Regions from separate parts of the Homo sapiens genome. Here regions 1, 3 and 4 are each linked to region 2. Evidence: promoter capture Hi-C in human tissues and cell types (Jung and others, 2019). All regions are on one chromosome and are shown on one strand. Each heading gives the region's core, a stretch centred on a gene start or on the middle of the fragment in contact. The rest is flanking DNA. Distances are from core to core; before and after follow the strand shown. Region 1 overlaps MGA (MAX dimerization protein MGA). Region 2 holds the start of ZNF106 (zinc finger protein 106). Region 3 holds the start of TGM5 (transglutaminase 5). Region 4 holds the start of TYRO3 (TYRO3 protein tyrosine kinase).

Region 1 (2,788 bases), core at 87-2,586, 820 kb before region 2:
TGACCTTTTTCTTTATAACCTTTAATAATTAACTAATTTTAACTTTATTTTTTATTTTTTTAAAGAGACGGGGTCTCACTCTGTCTCCTAGGCTGGAGTGCAGTGATATGGTTATGGCTCACTGCAACCTGAACTTCCAGGGCTGCTGAAGGTGTCCTCCTGCCTCAGCCTCCTGGCCACCATACCTGCTATTTTTTTTTTTTTTTTGGTAGAGACTGACTGGCTATTTTGACCAGGCTGGTCTTGAACTCTTGACCTCAAACGTTACTCCCACATGGGCCTCCTAAAGTGATGGAATTACCGGTGTGAGCCACTGCACCTGCCCACCTGGCCTGTGTTTTAGTTTTTAAAGGTTGTGTGTTCACAAGACACAAAATTTACAAAGTGTAAAAGGGTATCTTTTCCAAGTCATCAAGTTTTCCTTGGATATGACCAATACTACTGTTTTCTTTTCTGTCTTTCCAGAGATAGTCTGTGTAAAGCAAATATGTACATGTTCTTTTTCATTCTTTGGCTTTTTATTTATTTTAAAGACCGAAATACTGTCTATTTCTTTGATTTTAAAAAGGAAAAATCTTTTACAAGGGTTGAAAAACTACCTATCAGGTACTATGTTCACTGCTTGGATGATGGGATCATTAGAAGCCCAAACCTTATATTATGCAGTAGACTCATGTAAACAAACCTGCACGTGTTCTCCCTGTCTGAAGTTTAAGAGGTACAATAAAAAACTTTTAAAAGATGTGTGGCATAATTTACAACTCTTCTGAACATTTTACGCTTAATATATCTTGTAGATACTTTTTGCATGCATTCATTAAGCTTATACATTCTCTTTTGTGACTGTTAACATTCCACTCTATGGATGTGTCATCATTTGTTTTACCATTTTAAGGACTTCTCTCTTCCTGTCTAGTCTTTTGCTGTTATAAGTGGGAATGCAGGGGATAATCTTGTATAGATATCATTTATCACAGGTGTGTGTATTTAAAATAAAGTCCTATAGTGGGTTTTAACAGTGAATTAAGAAAACTTAAAGTCCTGGGAACAATTCTTTGTCATAGGATGATATATGGATTTGTACTTTTGATATTTTCAAGTTGCCCTCTCTTAGAGATTCTATTATTTTATACTCCCAGTAACTGCTTAGGGGAGAATGCTGGTTGACCTAACCCTTTCCAGCACTACCAGGCTTTGATTTTTGCCAGTCTGATAAGTAAAAAAACAGTATCTCAAGATGACTTTAATTTGCTTTCCTCTTAACTATGTACATATTCATAGCCATTTGCGTTTATTATCCTTTACTCATTTTTCTGTTAGGTATTTGGTCTTGTTGATTTGTAGGAAGCCTTTAAAAATTATTATTACTGTTAATGTATTTTTATTTTTTTTTTTGAGTCAGAGTCTCGCTCTGTCACCCAGGCTGAAGTGCAGTGGTGCCATCTTGGCTCGCTGCAACTCCACCTCCTGGGTTCAAGCAATTCTCTTGTCTTAGCCTCCCGAGTACCTGGGATTATGGGCGCACACCACCATGCCTAGCTAATTTTTTTATTTTTAGTAGAGACAGGGTTTCACCATGTTGGCCAGGCTGGTCTTGAGCTCCTGACCTCAAGTGATCTGACCTCCTTGGCCTCCCAGAGTGCTTGGATTACAGGCGTGAGCCACTGCTCCCCCGCCGCTATTATTTTTTAATAGAGACGGACTTTCACTACGTTGGACAGGCTGGTCTGGGACTCCTGACTTCAAGCAATCCTCCTGCCTTGGCCTCCCAAAGTGCTGGGATTATAGGTGTGAGTCACCATGTCCAGCCCCCTTTTTATATTAGGGAAAGGAGTTCTTTATAAGTTGCAAATACCTTTTCCTGGTTAGTTTGCTTTTTGATTTTGCTTAAATGATTTTGCCAGATTAAAAAATTTACAGAATATTAAATTTTATTTTATTTTTATTTCTTTGAGACGGAGTCTTTCCCTGTCACCCAGGCTGGAGTGCAGTGGCGTGATCTTGGCTCAGTGCACCTTCTGCCTCCTAGGATCAAGTGATTCTCATGCCTCAGCCTCCTGAGTAGCTGGGACTACAGGCGTGCACCACCACACCAGGCTAATTTTTTAATTTTTAATAGAGATGGGGTTTCGCCATGTTGGCCAGGCTAGTCTCGAATTCCTGGCTTTAAATGATCCACTGGCCTCAGCCTCTCAAAGTGCTGGGATTGCAGGTGTGAGCCACCACACCTGGCATCATATAGTATTAAATTTATCACTTTTTTTTTTTTTGGCCTTACTGGTTTTAGATTTTGTGTCTTATCAAAAAACTTTTCTCAGGATTTAGGAATAAAAAAATTAAATATTAGAGTCATCTGGAATTTATTTCAGTGTAAGGTCCATTGAGTTCCAGTGATTTGTCATGGCTTCTTTAAACGTGTGTACTAAGAAGTTAGATAGCTTTTTACTTATTTATGGAACCATGTCTTCTGAACCATATGAAGAACTAATTCTGTACAATTAGCTCTTTGGGATGAAAATGGAACTTTACTTATTTAATTTACTCATCACTGGGGAACTTGCTATATAAAGGAATCTTCTGGTAAATTCATAAAGTGTTAGGATGCTTTAAAAATGCATAACCTTCAAATTTAACTTTTTAATTTTGTATACTTTTTTAATAATGAATATACTCTTTTGTTTCTTTGTGTGAGATTATAGTATTTATAGTGAATTGTTAGAGGATTAGGATATAAGCACCTTAACTAATTAGATTAAAATGAACTTTAAAAAATGATTAGATATTCCAG
Region 2 (3,005 bases), core at 280-2,779:
AATTCTAGTTGCATCTGAAAATTGTCTTTCATTATTTCATTCACGACCAAACTTGAGAACGGGGCTTAAAGCAAATTTTAAGATTTCCCATGCTATTTACAACAGTACTAAGCTCTTAATAAGCACTCAAAAGTTATCTGTGGGCCGGGCGTGGTGGCTCAAGCCTGTAATCCCAGCACTTTCAGAGGCCAAGGTGGGTGGATCACCTAAGGTCAGGAGTTGGAGACTAGCCTGGCCAACATGGTGAGACCTCGTCTCTACTAAAAATACAAAAATTAGCCGGGCGTGGTGGTGGTGCACGCCTGCAATCCCAGCTACTCGGGAGGCTGAGGCAGGAGAATCTCTTGAAACTGGAAGGCGGAGGTTGCAGTGAGCCAAGATCCCGCCACTGCACTCCAGCCTGGGCGAAAGAGCGAAACTCCGTCCTAAAAAAAATAATAATAATAAAAATAAATAAAAATACAAAAAATTAGCCAGGTATGGTGGTGGGTGCCTGTAATCCCAGCTACTGGGTAGGCTGAGGCAGGAGAATTGCTTGAATCCAGGAGGCGGAGGTTGCAGTGAGCTAAGATCGCGCCACTGCACCCCAGCCTGGCAACAAGAGCGAAACTTTGTCTCAAAAAAAAAAAAAGAAGTTATTTGTGCTTTGAATAAACTGGATATAAACCATTATGGTGGATACAGCACTTATTTGCTAGGTAAGAGAACTTCGCTTACCTAGGATGACAGTCTCAAGTTGCTAAAAGCCACGGATATCTCAAACTTCTCAATAAGATGCCTTAATCTTACTCTCAAAGATGATTACACAACAAATTGAAAGGGGAAGAGGATGTAAAGCATTTCCTCTCCACAATTATACACCGAGATTCGGACTAAATATTAAACGGACACAGTAAGCTGTTGTTACTATTTGTTATTAGTTGTTATTATCAAGACGCATCCCACAAGGAGAGAAACGAAAGGAGGAAAAAGAACGGAGGTTGTCAGTCGCGAGAGGTTGAAATGTGTCCCTGGCCTGAGACCTACGGGCTTTAAGGACCAGGGTCTTTGGACTCCCTGCCCAACTGGGGACGAAGGAGGTCAGTGGCTTCCCCTAAAGGTCAAGGCTTTGGAGCCACGTTTCCTTCTGGGGCTGGGAGCAGAGCTGGAACGCCCCCGCGAAAATCCGTACCCCGAAGCCAGCAGCACCGCCTGCCCATAAACCCGCGCCGGCTCTGGGAGAGTGGACCACCAGGTTGCCCCTGAGCCGCAGCCTGCAGGAGTAGAAACCCGGTGGTGTCTTGCAGCCCCACAACCTCCCTAAGGGGCAGACGACCAGGACCCTTGGGCTCCGATACGCTCAACGCAGGCCGGCCCGTCGATACTCACATTCACAGCCAACCCCTCTTACTCCATCAGGCCGCCGAGAGCCAGGCGAGGGAGCTCCCTGACGCCTCAGACGCCCCCTTCAGTTTTGGGTCCGGGAGCCTGCTCCGGACCCGCTCCCCGCCGGGCCCCGCCACAGCCGCCGCCAACGCGCAGGCGCACACCGAAGCCGTCACGCTCGCTTTTTTTTCCTTTGCCGTCCGCAGTTCTCAATAATCTAGCTTTATTTGAACACAAGAGAGTGAACAACGGACACACAGGAAGAGGTTTTTCTCAAAAAGAATGGAGGAAGAACAAAGGCAGGCCCGCTTGCGGGAGAGTCAGTACGCAGCGTTGGACGCTATGAACAGCCTCCCTGGTCCCTTTTTCATTCTCCTTGTTTCTCCTTGTTCTTTCCCGGCCTCCCTGTAGCTCCTACTCTCTTCCTTGGTGTCCCGCCATTTCCTTTAGTCAGTGGCAACTGTTCGGGCTACATTTTGAAAACACTCCTTCCTTGTAAAACTTTCTGAAGTTGAATGGAAGGTGCAAGAGCTTTAGAACAGCCAGACCTGAGTTTCAGATCTTGGACTAGCTACGAATAATTTGTGACTTTGGGTAAATTACAATTCTTCTTGGAACCTCAGGTTCTTGAGTTAAAATTAGGATAATGTTATCTCACAGGGTGTTGCTAGGATTAAATAACATAGGTCAAGTGTTTATCTATGAATGCTGCCTATCACAGAGCAGACATTCCATAATACTGACTTTATTCTTACTCATGCCTAAGGTATTTATAATATTTTTTAAGTAGAGACGGGGTTTCACCATGTTGCCCAGGCTGGTCTCAAACTCCTCGGCTCAAGTGATCTGCCTGCCTTGGCCTTCCAAAGTTCTGGGATTGCAGGTGTCAGCCACCGCGCCCAGCCTACATTTATTATTTATTTATTTAGTTAGTTAGTTAGTTAGTTATTTTGAGATGGAGTCTTGCTCTGTCGTTCAGGCTGTAGTGCAGAACCGCTCTCTTGGTTCACTGCAACCTCCACCTTCCGGGTTCAAGCGATAATCCTGCCTCAGCCTCCCAAGTAGCTGGAATTACAGACGTGCACTACCACGCCCAACTAATTTTTGTATTTTTAGTAGAGATGGGGTTTCGCCATATTGGCCAGGCAGGTCTCAAACTCCTGACTTCAAATGATCCGCCCACCTCGGCTTCCCTAAGTGCTGGTATTACAGGTGTGAGCCACCGCGCCCGGCCGCCTATATTTATTATTAAACTTAGCCCATACCCATTCCCTCAGAAACCTAATTTTAGTGACTAAGACTATCAGATAAATGAAATGACATTCAGGTTGATAATTATGTGGAGTGTCCCTCCTATATTATTGAGATTATAACATCTCTGTTTAACAAGACCTTCAACGTCTCAAATAAAAGTAAGCAGCGGTGGGGCACAGTGGCTCACGCCTGTAATCCCAGCACTTTGGGAGGACGAGGTGGGCAGATCATGAGGTCCAGAGATCGAGACCATCCTGGCCAACATGGTGAAACCCCTTCTCTACTAAAAACACAAAAATTAGCTGGGCGTGGTGGTGCGTGCCTGTAGTCCCAGCTACTCGGAAGGCTGAGGAAGGAGAATCGCTTGAACCCGGGAGTCGGAGGTT
Region 3 (2,855 bases), core at 99-2,598, 780 kb after region 2:
GTTCATTGACTACTGGGCATATTTGTTTTCCTTGAGGTGAGAGGAGAATGGGGTGAGATGATCAGGAAATAAACAGAAGACTGTAGAAAGAACTTTTAAAGTAAGTGATCTTAGTAGTTATCCTAGAGAGACACTCCCACGTGAGCACACAGAGGCATGGATAAGTATGTTCCTTGCAATATTGCTTGTGTAACCGGAAAATTGAAAACAACCTAAATGCCCATCAATAGGGGACAGGATTAGAAATTACTTGCACTGATACTATGAGAAATATTGAGGTAGATCTATAGGTACTGACTGGCATGGACAGAGCTCCCAGACATACTGTGGAGTGAAAAAAATCAAGTTGTAGAAATATACATACAATATGATGATACCATGGATATACCAAAAAAGACCACACATGCTAATCCTATGTATTACATTGAGTAAATGTATGTCTGAGTGTAAATGTGCAGACAAAAGACAGGTAACAGTGTTTACTCTGGAGATGAGGCTGCCATTGGGGATGGCGGGCAGAGGACTATAGCTTTATCTATAATTATTTATTTATTTTACTCCAACTATGTATTCCCATATTTCTTGTGCAATTAAAAGTTATGAAAATTTTAAAACAAAAATTTAAACACAAAAAGTAATAAATAAAGGTAAGGTTGTTACAGTTGTAGAGGAAGTTGAAAGCTTATTCCTCTAAATGATTTCAACTAACGATTTAATCTTCACAGCAACTCTTTCCAGAGTGAGGGGGATGATATAGAGAGAAGGTTGGTGATGGGAAGATTAGCTAAGATCAGTAATAGACCTTCTGAAATGGAGGAAGAAGAGAAGATATGAAGATTCAGAGAACTTAAGAGCTGGAAGACAATTTCAAGATTGTCTGGTCCAATCCCTCCTTTTTCAGGCAAGGGGGTTGGAAACTAGAGGCGAAGTGACTTGTCCAATGTCAAAGGGTCAGCTAGTAGCAGAGAAGGACAGAAACCCTGACCCCCTCATCTCTGGCCCTGCCCTGTCCCACCTGGCTATGGAGGCAGGCATGTTAGCAAGCAGCTGTGTGCTGTGTTTACCTGTCTGCCTCTACGCTGTCTCCTGGTTCTCAAGCCACCAATGAATACTGAGGTTTCTGGGATTCTTGCTTTTCCTGCCTCAGTTCTGTATTTACTTCTTTATTTCTCTGAATCCACCCTCCACCCCTTGACTTCCTACAGTCTCTCTCTGTCCTTCTTATCCCTGAACTCCAGTGGCCACAGGGGCTTTCCCTACCTTGGGCCATGGTAGCTGCCTCCGGTTCCTGGGATGCTCCCCACAGAACAGCTGGGCGGTCTGGAGCTTCAGCAAACTGGTGCCAGAGTGTCTACTTCCCCTTCCATTGGAAGCCTCCAGGAGAACCGAAGGCGGGGCTGGACTGCTGCACTGCCACCTGATTACCGAGCAGATCACAACTGGTTTGCTCACTTGCCCTCAGGTTTTTCTTGGCAGTGTTGCTGAATTGAAAGGAGGTGTGGAGGCTGATGAACTGTCACAGCCTTATGCCGTGTGGGCCTTTGATAGCTCTTGAGCAATAGGGCATTCCCAGGGAGGTGCTGTGCTGTGGTGGAGAAGTCAGGAGGGAGAAGCGAGCTGATGGGCCCGCCAGAGGGATGCAGGGGGCTGCTGGAAGGAGCATCAGGGTCCCAAGACTCTGCTCACAGCTTAAAGCACCTCATTGAGCCGAGAACCCTGCTAGGTAACCAAGGCCTCTCTTTTATCCTGAAAAGTCACTTCCTGAACATTAAATGCAAACAGAACCCTCTCTGTCTGGATCTCCTTCGGTATGATTTCACTGTATTTAGCTTTGGCAGTGGCATTGTCTTGCATGAGACCTGGCAGGTCCAAGACAAATCACAAATAAAAGCAAATAATCACAAATAAAATAGAGGAAGAAAAATTGGGAAGATTTGTGGAGGAGGTGTGGAAATAGGTGAGAGGGTGGGAATGCCGGTGAGCAAGGGCCTTGATCCTAGTAAGAAAGGCACAAGCCCTTTCATAGGGAGAAAAGCGCAGGTGGAAGGAGAGAGAGGGCAGGAGGGGGAAGGGCTCTGCCTGTGGAGTGGGTGGGACCCCCATGCCTACCCTGTCTTTCTGTGCTCTGGGGCACTTCTCCCCACATCCCCTGCTTTCTGGGTCCTTCTCCCTGGGGAACCTCTTTCACCAGCATTGTCCTCCCTCCTGTATTTTCAATTCTCTCTGTCCCCACTCAGCTCTTTTTTAAAACCTATGTAATTATTTTTATTTTTAATGTCCAGAATGTGTACTATAAGGGCCAGGGCTTCTTCCTGGACTTAATTTTATAAATTCTTGATTGGTTGGTGAGACCAATAGCGATACTTTTTCTTGTCTAATTTGGTTTCCGGGAAAGCTTCGTTCAAGTCGTCAATGGTCATCTGATCAAATGGTATTAAGTTCCTCATCTTCTCCAGCTGTTTCTCATATTCTCCAACCTGGCCTTTGAGAGAGACACCCACTCAGCACAAGTTTTCCCATCTTCTTTTTCTTCAGCATCCACCTGGGCAGTATATTTATCCTCTGGTACAGGAAGCTTCAGGACATTAAACTTCTTCTCAAAGTCATCCACCAAGCCTGCCTTGGCCACATTGGCCTTGTAGTAAGTCCAGTCAATAGCTGGTGGATTCTCAGGTAAAGTAGCCAGCCTGGAGGTGAGGGTCTCATTCCAGGATTTCAGATAATTAGCAATGGCCTTTTGGTTTTGGGGTATCATCTCTGCAAAAGCTACCCAGTCAATGGTTTTTAGAGCAAGTTTTCACCCAGCCATCTTGGTATACTTCACTGACCATGGCAGCCCATGGCCCACACCCCAC
Region 4 (3,054 bases), core at 141-2,640, 930 kb before region 2:
TTAATAAACAAGCACTGCTGGGGCCAAGTGGAAGAAGAGGCAGGCCCCTGCTGCTCAGGAGAATCCCTGAAAAGATCCAGTGAGCCTGCGGCAACCGGAGCTGAGTGGCTGGTCCCTCCTCTCTACCCAGGACCTCTGGAAGGGGTGTGGGGTGGGCTTCCCCCTGGAGGGAAGGGCAAGGGGAGGAGCACACTTGGTAGGCTTGGTTTGGAACCAGCTCTGCATGTGCCTAACAGGATGTCTGTGGGCAAGGCCACCCTCGTGATTACTGGTTGTGGGGCAGGCTCTGAAGCAATTATTCATTCATTTAACAGGCATCTGCCTATTTATTTATGGAAAGCCTACTGTGTGCAAGGTGGTCTACTAATAATAGCTAATGTTTGACTGGACAGTGTGACGACACAGCCAACTTTCACACCAGGTCCTGGGAAAAGGGGTAGAAGCAGGGGAAGCAACCAGGAAAAATGACAGCCCAAAAAGATACGGGCAATTAGGCTTTGGCCTGTGTAGTGTAGTGGTGGGGATATATATTAGGTAAAACCTGGGGATTACCAAGATCTTGGGAAACTCAGGACCCAAGTTGGAAAACATACGGCAATTGGGGCTGGAGAAAATGGGCATTTTTCAGGTGGGAGGGACTTGGAGATAAAGGCATGGCAATAGGACATGAATATGGGGATTTTGGGTGAATGGCTCAATGAAAGGGAGGCACGAAGGGATGCTAGCCGATCCTGTTGGGGGAGCCCCGGGTCACGGCAGTTTCGGGGAGCCAGATGGATGGGAGTGTCTAGGGGTTGAGGTGCTCTAAGTCCTGAGAGGGGGATGCTGGATTCTGGGATCAGAGTCCGAACAAGAGTTGGGGTGTGGTGGGGGCTGACAGCGGGGTTTTGAGGGAAGGCTCTGGAGGGCTGGGTTAGAAAAGATGCCGGAGCGGGTTTAGGGAAAGGAGGGGCGTGGCCGGGGAGCCCATCCTGGAGGCCAAGCCGGATCCTCAGGTTTGGCCAGGGGGCGGCTGGGGCCGGCGTGCCGGCGGGGCGCCGGCGGGGCCGCGGGGGTTTGCGGCGCTGGCTGGGATTCGCGCTCCGAGCCAGTCGCCGGGGCTCCGCGGGGGGGCGGTGCGAGCTCGGGCTGCGGGCGGGCCGGGAGGAGGCGGCGGCTCCGAGAAGAACATGAATCAGCGGCGGCGACGGCGGCGACGGCAGTGGAAGGAGCGCGGTGGCGCGGGAGCGGCCCCGGGGACCCCGCGCTGCTGACGGCGGCGACCGCGGCCGGAGGCGGGCGCGGGTCTCGGAGGCGGTCGCCTCAGCACCGCCCCACGGGCGGCCCCAGCCCCTCCCGCAGCCCTCCTCCCTCCCGCTCCCTTCCCGCCGCCTCCTCCCCGCCCTCCTCCCTCCTCGCTCGCGGGCCGGGCCCGGCATGGTGCGGCGTCGCCGCCGATGGCGCTGAGGCGGAGCATGGGGCGGCCGGGGCTCCCGCCGCTGCCGCTGCCGCCGCCACCGCGGCTCGGGCTGCTGCTGGCGGCTCTGGCTTCTCTGCTGCTCCCGGAGTCCGCCGCCGCAGGTAGGGGCTGGCACGGGAGGCGGCGGGAAGCGGGGGGCTGCGGAGGGGCGCGGCCGGGGGTCGGAGCCCGGGGCGGGCCTGGCGGGCTGGAGTCGGGGTGGGGGTCCGGAGCCGAAGGCCGAGGCTCGGAGCCGGGACAGGGCACGCTGCGGAGTGCTCGCCGCCAGATCTCCGGCCGGGCCCCCACCCCCAACTTTCTGGCGCTCGGGGCTCTTCTGGCGGGGTGGAAGAGAAGGGAGCGGGGTGTGGGCTGTGTGGTCAGCGGGGAGTGTTTGGGACTGCATTTTCCCGCCTCGATGTTCCCAGCTGTTAGCTCCCTCCTTCCCAGTACTGGGGACCCCATTCTGCCTGCCCCGCACGCGAAGGTCCGCCTCGGAAACCACACGGGCCGGGGCTGGGCACCCAAAGGCCACCCTGATACCATTTAGGTACACAGGGGCTGTGAGGGTGCCCAGTCACAAAAAACAAATGGGCACACTCGAGTTCCTGTGCCCTCAGAGCTTCCTGAAAGCAGAACCTTGGAGAGGATGGGCTGGTGCCAGGTTGCTGGTCTTTGGGAGGGGTTAGTCTTGTGTTCCCACATAGCCACTGAGGCATTTGCTGGTGACAAGAGCGTTCCATGCAGCACGGTGCTCTCCAAGTTCCCACCCCGCACCTCGGGGACTGATGGGCATATAGGGAGCGGGAGGCTGGCCCCCATCCTGTGACTGGTCCTGAGAGGGTGAAGGGAGCAGGGAAGAGCCACAGGCCAGGACAGCGGCCACCCGCTGGCATCTTCTCTTGAGACAGCATTCCTTGCCATATCAGCCTCTCAGGGAAGGGAAGGGAAACGGGGTGACGAGTATTTACAAGCCGAAAGGTGCGGACCTGATGCTCAGGGAGCCCACGACTTTGCCTAGAGTCACACAGCAAAGGGTGAGAAGAAGCAGGGCTGGATTTCAGTTATGTGGATACTTGACCTGCCCCTCTCTCTGCTTAAAAACATGCCAGGAGGCCAGGAGAGGTGCGTGTATGTGTGTGTGTGTGTGTGTGTGTGTGTGTGTGTGTGCGCGCGCGCGCGCGCGCTCGCACGCAAGTTCCAAAGAGTGGCCCCTGTTAATGTGGCAGTGGCTCAGGGGTCTTAGGCTCCCTGCTCAGGGCCCCAGCCCTCCCTTCTGCCTCCCACCTTCCTAGCACTCGCCCCTGCCCACATTCAGGTATTAATAGAGTGGATGGCTGCCAGGAAGGCTGCCATGTGTTTGATCTGACGTGGTTTTGCAGCCATATGTTCTCCACTTCAGGGGAGCACCCCCTCCTTTCCTTCTTCAGCCCTGCTCCATTTGGTAAGGTTGGGTGCAGAGGGTGCTGGCAGCAATTCAGGGTCTGGGCTGACACCTTGGGTGGAGAGCTGGCAGCCTGTTGCACTAGTTGGGTGCAGCAGTCATTCCTAGAGCAGTGCCTGCCCCAGTAGGGTAACTCCCATCGTTTCAGCCCAGCCTGCCTTCCTTTTGCTGT

Evidence for each region. Contacts are between HindIII fragments. The study calls those that stand out against the background at their distance.
Region 1: a fragment that was not itself captured here is called in contact with the fragment with the promoter of ZNF106 in region 2 in 1 of the 25 tissues and cell types used here (hippocampus).
Region 3: a contact is called between the fragment with the promoter of TGM5 here and the fragment with the promoter of ZNF106 in region 2, in 1 of the 25 tissues and cell types used here (adrenal gland).
Region 4: the fragment with the promoter of TYRO3 here is called in contact with the fragment with the promoter of ZNF106 in region 2 in 1 of the 25 tissues and cell types used here (hippocampus).

What each region holds. Positions count from the first base shown.
Region 1 is chr15:41,665,870-41,668,657 of GRCh38, forward strand. The region is part of intron 1 of MGA (MAX dimerization protein MGA); the gene reads left to right. Among named protein-coding and RNA genes, the nearest start is that of MGA, 6.9 kb to the left of the region's middle. The HindIII fragment of the contact is 4,748 bases long and covers 1-2,788 here.
Region 2 is chr15:42,489,612-42,492,616 of GRCh38, forward strand. It overlaps ZNF106 (zinc finger protein 106), which reads right to left and starts at 1,530. Exons shown (of 22, transcript NM_001366845.3): 1 at 1,369-1,530. It also overlaps a transcript of SNAP23 not described here. RefSeq lists enhancers at 1,003-1,192, 1,243-1,292, 1,593-1,702. The HindIII fragment of the contact is 10,038 bases long and covers 1-3,005 here.
Region 3 is chr15:43,265,580-43,268,434 of GRCh38, forward strand. TGM5 (transglutaminase 5) reads right to left here and starts at 1,349. Exons shown (of 13, transcript NM_201631.4): 1 at 1,261-1,349. The coding sequence starts at 1,270. It also overlaps the pseudogene ATP5PDP1. The HindIII fragment of the contact is 9,168 bases long and covers 234-2,855 here.
Region 4 is chr15:41,557,822-41,560,875 of GRCh38, forward strand. It overlaps TYRO3 (TYRO3 protein tyrosine kinase), which reads left to right and starts at 1,391. Exons shown (of 19, transcript NM_006293.4): 1 at 1,391-1,560. The coding sequence starts at 1,437. RefSeq lists enhancers at 810-1,311, 1,878-2,519 and silencers at 1,040-1,129, 1,075-1,241, 1,180-1,319, 1,330-1,499, 1,806-2,006. The HindIII fragment of the contact is 10,010 bases long and covers 1-3,054 here.